2 separate regions of the Homo sapiens genome follow, and region 1 is linked to region 2. Evidence: promoter capture Hi-C in 16 types of primary human blood cells and fetal thymus (Javierre and others, 2016). All regions are on one chromosome and are shown on one strand. The core of a region is centred on a gene start or on the middle of the fragment in contact, and the rest is flanking DNA. Distances in the headings are between cores, read along the strand shown.

Region 1 (4,756 bases), core at 1,666-4,165, 58 kb after region 2:
TAATATTCTCTTATTTTCTCTTTTTCTATTTCTAGGGAGATACTAACATCTCCATCATGCTGGCAATATGCTGTCCTGCTTAACCGATTCAATTATCCTTTTGAACTGGAAAAGGATTTACATTTGAAGGGCTATCACACACTCTCTCAGGGATCTTTACCCAACTATCCTAAATCAGTGAAGTGTTACCTTAGCAGAACTCCGGGCCGAATCCCTTCAGAAAGACACCAAATTGGAAACCTGAAAAAATATTATCTCCTAAATGCTGCTTCTCTTCTCCCAGTGTTGGCTCTGGAATTAAGGGATGGGGAGAAGGTTCTGGATCTCTGTGCTGCTCCTGGAGGGAAATCAATAGCTCTGCTGCAGTGTGCTTGTCCAGGTAGTGTGCTTTCCTTTCAGTATTTGACAACTTTTTAATATCTGTATGTTATAGAGAATTCTGAAAGTATATATGGGGAGAAACGTAAGACTGAGTTTGCAAACTCAGGAAGCCTGAAAACTGAGATGCTATGGAGAAGAATGGAAATTTTTGCTGAGGAAGTCAGTATAAATAACATTTTTTTCAGCAATTTAATTCTAGCAGGTGATTGGGAACAAAACTTCAACATTTCGCAAATACAAATCTGTCAGATAATATGAATGCTGATAAGCCTGATAGGTATTTTTTATTGTTTACCTTTATACTTGAGAGTCTTATGTAGATATCCCTGTCATACTTTTCTGCAACAAAAACATATACATTTAAAATAATTTTTGATGTCAATAGACTATAAGGTTCCAAGGCAATTCTTTCCAGTAGAAATATAATGTGAAGTATATATATACCCTTAAATATTTAAGTAGTTCCATTTTAAAAAGTAGAAGCAGGTGAAATTAATTTGAATAATACATTGAACCAATACATTCAAAATATTGTTTCAATATGTAATCAAAATAGAAATAATGAGATATTTTACATTCTCTCTTTTTTTTACAGGTCTTTAAAATTGGTTACGTTACAGTTACATCACATTTCAGTTGAGACTAGCCACATTTCAGGTGTTCATAGCCACATGTGAGAAGAGGGTATAGTATTGGACAATCCAAAAAGTCTTTTCAAGTGACTTTTTCATTAATATTATTATTAGAACCAAAGTGATACACAGGTTTACAAATATTTGTTAAAAGTAACAAGTCAACATTTACAATTTTTACAATATTTACAAAATTTACAATTTTTTTCTTAATAATTTTTCTTTTAAAGCTAATTCTTTTTTTAAAAAACTGATACAGGCTTCCCCGAATAAATATTACCTACTACTAGAAGAGGCAGAGTTCAGCATCAATTCTGTCTGTTTTTTGTGTGATGGTTCTGTTTTTATAGATGCCAGTGCTGTTCACACAGATAAGAAGATGGAAATGTTGGCTGGGCGCGGTGGCTCGTGCCTGTAATCCCAGCACTTTGGGAAGCCAAGGCAGGCGGATCGCTTGAGCTCAGGAGTTCTAGACCAGTCTGGGCAACATGGGAAAACCCTGTCTGTACAAAAAGATTCAAAAAATTACCTGGGTATGGTGGTGCATGTCTGTAGTCCCAGCTACTCGGGAGGCTAAGGTAGGAGGATTGCTTGAGCCTGGGAGGCAGAGATTACAGTGAGCTGAGATTGCACCACTCCACTTCAGCCTGGGAAACAGAGTGAGATCCTGTCCCAGAGAAAATTGTGTTACAGTTGTTTTACTGTTTCTTCACACTCCTGATTTGTAGCCTCAGATCACATACAGATCTTTCATCAAGCATTATTTTAAAGATCTATTAGGTAAGCACTCTTTAAGTCCATTTTTAATTTTGTTGAAAGCAAATGACGTGACACCATCTCAATTACAAAAGGCAGTGTTGCCTTTTTTTTTTTTTTTGAGATGGAGTCTCGCTGTGTCTCCCAGGCTGCAGTGCAGTGGCGTGATATCAGCTCACTCCAACCTCTGCCTCCCAGGTTCGAGTGATTCTCCCGCCTCAGCCTCCCGAGTAGCTGGGATTACAGGTGCCCACCACCATACCTGGCTAATTTTTATATTTTTAATAGAGATGGGGTTTCACCATGTTGGCCAGGCTGGTCTCAAACTCTTGACCTCAAGTGATCTGCCCACCTGGGCCTCCCTAAGTGCTGTGAGCCACTGTGCCTGGCTGACTTATTCACTTCCTCAGCCAAAACACTGATGTGTTGAACTGCCCTTGTTTGATGTTCTGGAGGTTTCGATACCCTGGCACATTCTACCATAATAAGATTCTAGATGTGTGGGAAGCTTGCTTGTCATTTGTAAAGTTGGTGAAGGACCTTGTGAAAGGAGATGCCCCACTGGAAGTGTTCTCCTCCTTTAGGAAGTTGATGATCTGAAAATGGATTCTTTTGAAACTGTCCAAGCCTTCCTGTCCCTTAGAACATTGGTGTGTATCCCCAAGGCATGTATGTTCCAGTTTGAAGACTGCTTTTATACTTTTATATGAGAGCATTCCCTGTTGAAATAGATTTAAAATTCTTTTATGAGAAACGTGAATCCAGTTGTACTAGGCATTGGTACAAATATATCAGTTAACTGTATATTTAGGAGGAAATATGCCCAATGTTTTAGAGTTCTGGTTAAAACTCAGCTATTGAAGCTTGCTGTATTTTAAAATAAGAAATCACAGCAAAAATGTTATTTTACAAGTTTACCTCGTTATTTTTATAATTTGAGCTGAAGTTTTGTGGAATTGTATGTTATAAGGAGCACTTATTTTTACTTCTACTCTATGTCCTTTGACATTGTTTTTATAAGTTAAAAGGCTTATACTAATTAATTCAGGATATGGAATTTTAGTATTATAAAGGATGAAAGGGAAATGTCAAATTTGGTTACCATTTTGAAGAGAGGGCATTTTAATTCTAAATTATCCTCATTAGTAGGCTATAAATATTTTACACATTTATAGTAGCAAAGTTGATTTGATTAGGAACCCAAAGGCAAACTGATATATTCTAGCAGTTTGAAGTTGAGAAGAATCTTCCTGTTCTTATATCAAGGGCAATGAACTACAGGCAGTGTTCCAAGTAAAGTAGCTTTTCATCTAAGTAGGACTAATGATAATGATTTACTAAGAAGTACAGATGTCTTCATGCTGATGCTTAAAGCCCAAGTTAGGTTAGCTACAGTGCTTGAATTTGGAATGTAGAAGCAATACTAATCAAAGCTTTTATAAGCAAAATGTAAAATGATGGCTGCACTAAATGTGCATTTGTACACCAAATTTCTTTAGATCAGTACTGACCTTTATTCTGGGCCAAGAGGCTCATGGCTTTGAATGATTACAAAGCTTATGTTTTAGGATGATTTAAAAAAAAGAGTCTACTTTCTGTTGGTTCAGCTGCTCTCACCTGTTACCACATTGATGGACTCACCATGGTTGTTGTCAACATAGCCTTTTTAATGTCCTGGTCTTGGCAGAAAAAGAGCAAACAATATGGATTCTAAATGGGAAAACATTAGCATATTAACTAAGGATGACCCAGCTTGGTAGATTGTCTTAGTCAACTTTCTGGCTGAAGGCTATGTCCCTCTAGGCATGAAAATCTCTTTGATGTCAGTGATAACTTTTTTGGTTTTTTGAGACAAGGTCTTGCTCTGTTGCTCAGGCTGGAGTGCAGTGGTGCGATCTTGGCTCACTGCAGCCTTGACTTCCTGGGTTCAAGTCATCCTCCCTCCTCGGTCTCCCAGGTAGCTGGGACTGGGCACATGCCACCAAACCTGGCTAATTTTTGTATTTTTTGTAGAGATGGGGTTTCACTATGTTGCCCAGGCTGGCCTCGAACTCCTGGGCTCAAGCAGTCTGCCTGCCTTGACCTCCCAAAATGCTGGGATTACAGATGTGAGCCACTGAGCCCAATAGTGATAACTTTTTGATATCTGGTTAGTAGAGAAGACTGAAAAGACTCCTTTCTTGGTTTAATTGCTTTTGCTCTCCTTCCTGCTTCTTCATCTCTAGTCCTTTTTGCACATTCTACAGGTGTCTCTTTTTCCTTTCTCTTCCCCTGCTCCTTTTCATCCTTCAGATTATACTTCAGGATTTAATTTTCCTGGAATGCCTTCTCTGAACTCCCTGCATTAGGTTCATCTTCTTTGTGGGAATGAAAATAATAACCATTTTGTAACACTTTGTATGTGCTAAGGATTGTGTTAATCACATTGCTTAAACCTCTGCTTTTCAAACTTTTTTTAGTAGTCTCTGCTTCCAACATCTTGTTTTTTATTTATTTTTTCTTTCTCTCACTTTCTCCCAACAACTTTTGTTATATCCTCATATATAAATCTTTCTAAAATCCTAGGGCTCTGAGGAACTGTGACTATCACTGATGACCATTATTTAACTCTCCAGCTCTGTGAGTTGGGTATTATTATTCCCATTTTAAAGAGTTATCTGAGACAAGGAGAAGTACCAAATTGCCTAAGGTAACTGGCAGAGCTGGGATCTGAACTCAAGTTTTCATTGTTGTAGTTGTGCTATTGACTATTCTAGGGTCTCTCAGTAATACACAAATGCTGACTTCTGTAGCATCCTCCGTTAGTGTCCTGGAGCATAGGGACAGATCCTTTTTTTTTTTTTTTTTTTAGACATAGAGTCTCTCTCTGTCGCCTAGGCTGGGGTGCAGTGGTGTGATCTTGGGTCACTGCAGTCTCTGCCTCCTTGGTTCAAGCAATTCTCATGCCTCAACCTCCCGAGTAGCTGGGATTATAGGCACATGCCACC
Region 2 (4,955 bases), core at 177-2,676:
TGTTGCTTTTGTATATGAAGTCAACTTGCCACATTTTTCTAGTGCAAGTGAAAGCAGAGGATCTTATTGTAATATATTAACCTCTTTGGCTACTAAAGTGAGGGCCAAATAGTAGTTTCTAAAAACTAAAAAAAAATTGCAAATTGCATATATTGTCTAATTTTGAAGTATCTGACTTTTTTTGCAATGTAAACTTTCAATGCTTTTTTCTACATTTTATTTAGTCTAAATAACTTATTGAATTAACTTGTATAACAACATTAAGATCATTTTTGTTTAAATATGATGTATAATTTTTGAACTTTTATCTGATTCAAGTAAGCTGTACATACATAAAATGATTTTTATATTACATTTAAAACTGCATAGCTGTGAAGATAATGTGTTCGAGGTATTACGTGGCCAATTCTCAAGTCCACCTTTAAAATACATATAAAAGTCATTATTATTTTGATTTGAAATGGAATATTTATTAAATTCTAACATAGTAACAATTATAACTTTGAAAGTATCTAACCTATCTACATATGTTGTATTTAAATGATGCTGATTTAAATTTTTCAAACTATCAATTAAATGCTAACACTTACGTTAAATGGTATAACAAGTATTTTTAATGTACTAGTTGAAATATTATAAAGGTTAGTGAGTACTTCGATATTTTCTGGTAGCCCTTTCACAAGATTATTTTCTCATTTTTTCAATTTTAGAAGATTCTAGTAAACAACAATGAAGCAATTAAGACCATTATAGCAAATTATTTCAGATTTTTAAGGTTATACGTATGTGTCAAATTTGGGTATAAGCTGCTTTTCAGAGTGAAATATAAAAATGTTCTCTAAAGTAAGCACATTCATAGTCTGTCTATAAAAGAAATAATTTTAGATCTGTTTTTACATCTGACTTTCTAGTATTTTTTAAATGAGAGCTTACTTTTTAAAAGACTTAAAAATTTTTTCTTTCCTCTAAAGTTGATTTTTATTATCGTAGTCTATTTTCAAGAGCTTTATACCCAGATCCCAGTCAGCATGTCAGTAATATATGTGAACAAATCAGCTACTGGTACCCCGGTCCAAATCTGAGCAAAACAAGTAACCCTCATTATTTGTTGAGTGATTTTTAAATGTAACAGTGTAACCAGATGTCAGTCTATGGATACCTCATATTAAAAAGTACAGAAAAGAGTCATTATTTACCTTTCTGTTTTCTTCCTTTTGTTGGTTTTCCACCTGCGGTGTTGGAGTCCTGCCTTTGAGAGAATATCTGAATATCATCTCATGTTTTGAACAAATTATCTAAATCTCTGTCTTATAGGGCACAGACTAATTTCTGTATAGTTTTCATGTTGTTAATTTGAAAGCCAAATAATGAAGTCAAATAAGAGATAAAGTTGTACGTTTGCTGTTAATAGCAAGTGAAAATAGATTGCTTACTTCACACCTGGAGAATCTGGTTCTGCCTGTTAGACGCCTATTCTTTAGATTAAAGGAAGATCATTTTCATTGGAGCTAGTCGGTAACAGGAAGTCCTCGTTAAACTGCCTACGTAGAGTATTTGGCACTGGATCTGCAAATTTAGTCCTACATTGTATATGTAATATATTATTCCAAGAAAATGGGTTTGTATTTAAACAAAGGTTACTTTCTTTTCTATAGATATCAAAACTTACTAAAAATATGGAATTAAATAGGAATGAAAAGAAGCTTGGTGTAAAAGCTTTTTTTGTTCCATTTACTTTAAAATGGTTGAAATCTGTCCTATTTTAGGAAATCCCAAAAGAGCTTAGCTCACAAAATCATAGAATTTCAGAAGGAGAACATCCAGGAAAGAGCTCATGTCTGTAAACCATTCATCCCACGTTACTTTTAATTTTTTTTACTTTTTATTATGCCTGCTGTTTTTATTTTAAAATAAATTTTATATAGAACTAAAGTTATCCAGCAATATATGTTAAATCATTTATTTTGTCAATATAACAACTCAAAATTAATTTATACCAGAGGGAAATGTTTATAGGAAGAATTAAAAATGAAAATTTCTCTTGTACTACCAAATTTCAGACCCATTTTTTCTACCTGACTTGTTACTATTTGAGGGCAAGAAGAAGGAAATTGCTGTATCTATCAAAATCATATATATATATATATATATATATATATATATATTTATTTTTTTTTTATTTTTTTTTTTTTTTGAGAAGGAGTCTTGCTCTTGTAGCCCAGGCTGGAGTGCAGTGGCACGATCTTGGCTCACTGCAACCTCCGTCTCCCGGGTTCAAGCAATTCTGCTGCCTGAGCCCCATAAGTAGCTGGGATTACAGTTGCCTGCCACCACGCCCAGCTAATTTTTTTGTAGAAATGGGGTTTCACCATGTTTGCCAGGCTGGTCTCGAACTCCTGACCTCAGGTGATCCACCTGCCTCAGCCTCCCAAAGTTCTGGGATTACAGATGTGAACCACCATGCCCGGCCAATCACATTTATATTTATTCTTTGTTTTAACAGTTCTACTTCCTGGAATCTGTACTCAAAATAAGAAATGACTCCTTTACACACCTACTTTTTATAGCACTCTTTGTAAAAACAAAACACTGGAAACACAAAAGTCCTTCAGCGTAGAACTGGCTGAATAAATGATGGAACATTCAAAGGGGAGCATTTTGCAATTATAGAAAATAGTGAAGATTTTATTATACTGCTTCAGGGTACTTCAAAATTTACTGTTCAGTTAAAACAAGCATGCTGCAGAAGAATATATATAATATGCTAAGTTTTAGGAAGAAAGGAAGGGTAGATATAAATATTGTATATATACACAAATACATAAACCAGTCAATAGCATTGAATATTCACAGTGCCCAAATTATGGTCCTTGAAATACCATTTTCTCCATACGCTTGTTTATATTTTCAAAAAGAAATAATGGGAGGATGAACTAAACACGAATGAAAATGGTTACCTATAAGGGAAGGGAAGGAAAAGGCAGAGAGATAGCAAATAGTTCCTTTCTGATTGTACCTTGTTTTTATAGTTCTGAATTTAGAACCATATAAATATTTTTTTATTTTTATTTTTTGAGACAGGGTCTCACTCTGTCACCCAGCCTGGAGTGCAGTGGCGCGATCTCGGCTCACTGCAACCTCTGCCTCCTGGGTTCAAGCGATTCTCATGCCTCAGCCTCCCGAGTAGCTGGTATTACAGGTGCACGCCACCACGCCTGGCTCATTTTTTTTTTTTTTTTTTTTTAGTAAAGACAGGGTTTCACCATGTTGGCAAAGCTGGTCTTGAACCCCTGACAAATGATCCACCCACATTGGCCTCCCAGAGTGCTGAGATTACAGGTGTGAGCCACCACGTCCAGCCGATATAAATATTTTAGAAATTAAATCTTAAAACAAATACACAAACGATCTCTAAAATGCAAAAGCACCTAGAAAGAAATGAACCTAGGTATATATCTAGGTGATGGCAAAACCACACAGAGAAGTACTATTTTAAGTAATTTTAAAACAGTATTATTGACTCTGCATCTCTAGTGGGATATAGCGTAGAGACAAAGATACGTAACCACAAAGATATGTTAACCTGCACTTAGTAGTCTTAATATTTAGTAATCATATTGATATTATTATGTTAAAATTCCTATATATAGTTGGATAAAACAAATAATGTCATTAGAAACTGTAGTTTTCAGCATAAGTAAAAAGAGATACAAATAAGATCTAAGGCTGGGCACAGTGGCTCATGCCTGTAATCCAGTACTTTAGGAGGCTGAGGCAGGAGGATTGAGCCTAGGAGTTTGAGACCAGCCTGGGGAACATAGTGAAACCCCATCTCTGCTAAAATAATTTTTTAAAAAAAGAACGTTCGAACACTAGCTGGGCATAGTGGTATGCGCCTGTAGTCCCAGCTACTTGAGAGGCTGAGGTGGGAGGATGGCTCAAGCCTGGGAGGTAGAGGCTGTAGTGAGCTGTTGTCACACCTCTGCACTTAAGCCTGGGCAACAGAGTGAGACCCTGTCTCAAAGAAATAAACAAAAACAAGATTTAAGAAGCTAAGTAAAACTTGGTAGTTGATTTGAAATGAAAAAATCAACACGAATACATGGTTAGATTTTTTTTTTTTCTAGAATAAAACTATTTCCTAGCTTTGTGCACTGAAAGGGCCTAGAAGCAGTAGTAAGTCAATAGCAAATGTTTATCTATAACTCCTAGGTTTTAGTCTTTAAAATGCCATTTTCCACTGAAAAGATCAAGGCTTCTTGGGGAAATGGATGATTGCAAGTCTGGAACCTTGTTTCATAGTAGAACATAAAGAAGCTATCAAAGACTGTTGGAGTTGTACCAAAAGGGTCCAAGAGCCAACCTGAAGGGGACTCCTGCTGCCTCAAAATGGGTACCTTTGAGCCTTAAAAAGAGCAATAACTGCAACAAATTGAAACACATCAAATACATTTTTAAATCCATAAGTTCATAATGATGCCTCTCAAAATAAGAAAAAGTACCAAAAAGCCTGAATAGCCAAAGCAGTCCTAAGCAAAAAGAACAAAGCTGGAGGCATCATATTATCTGACCTTAAATTATACTACAAGGTTATTGTAACCAAAGTAGCATGGTACTGGTATAGAAATAGATGAATAGATCAATGGAAAAGAATAGAGAACCCAGATGATGGGTACAGCGATGCTAGGAAAATTCAATTGCCATATGCAGAAGAATGAAACTGGAACCCTGTCTCTCACCATATACAAAAATTAACTCAGGGTGCATTAAAGACTTAATGTAAGACCTGAAAAATACTGGAAGAAAACTGATGAAACTCTTCTGGACATTGGTCTAGGCAAATAATTCATGACTAAGACCTCAAAAGCAAAAGCAACAAAACCAGAAATAGACAAATGGGACTTAATTATTAAGTAAAAACTTCTGCACAGCAAAAGAAGTAATCAATGGAGCAA

Evidence for each region. Contacts are between HindIII fragments. The CHiCAGO score rates a contact against its expected background, and 5 or more counts as called.
Region 1: a fragment that was not itself captured here is called in contact with the fragment with the promoter of STX19 in region 2 in 2 of 17 cell types (total CD8 T cells and activated CD4 T cells); the score reaches 5.5 in total CD8 T cells.

Annotation. Positions count from the first base shown.
Region 1 is chr3:94,084,072-94,088,827 of GRCh38, forward strand. NSUN3 (NOP2/Sun RNA methyltransferase 3) reads left to right here. Exons shown (of 6, transcript NM_022072.5): 3 at 36-379. Among named protein-coding and RNA genes, the nearest start is that of NSUN3, 23 kb to the left of the region's middle. The HindIII fragment of the contact is 570 bases long and covers 2,631-3,200 here.
Region 2 is chr3:94,027,171-94,032,125 of GRCh38, forward strand. It overlaps STX19 (syntaxin 19), which reads right to left and starts at 1,427. Exons shown (of 2, transcript NM_001001850.3): 1 at 1,197-1,427. The region is part of intron 3 of ARL13B (ARF like GTPase 13B); the gene reads left to right. The HindIII fragment of the contact is 4,986 bases long and covers 1-1,701 here.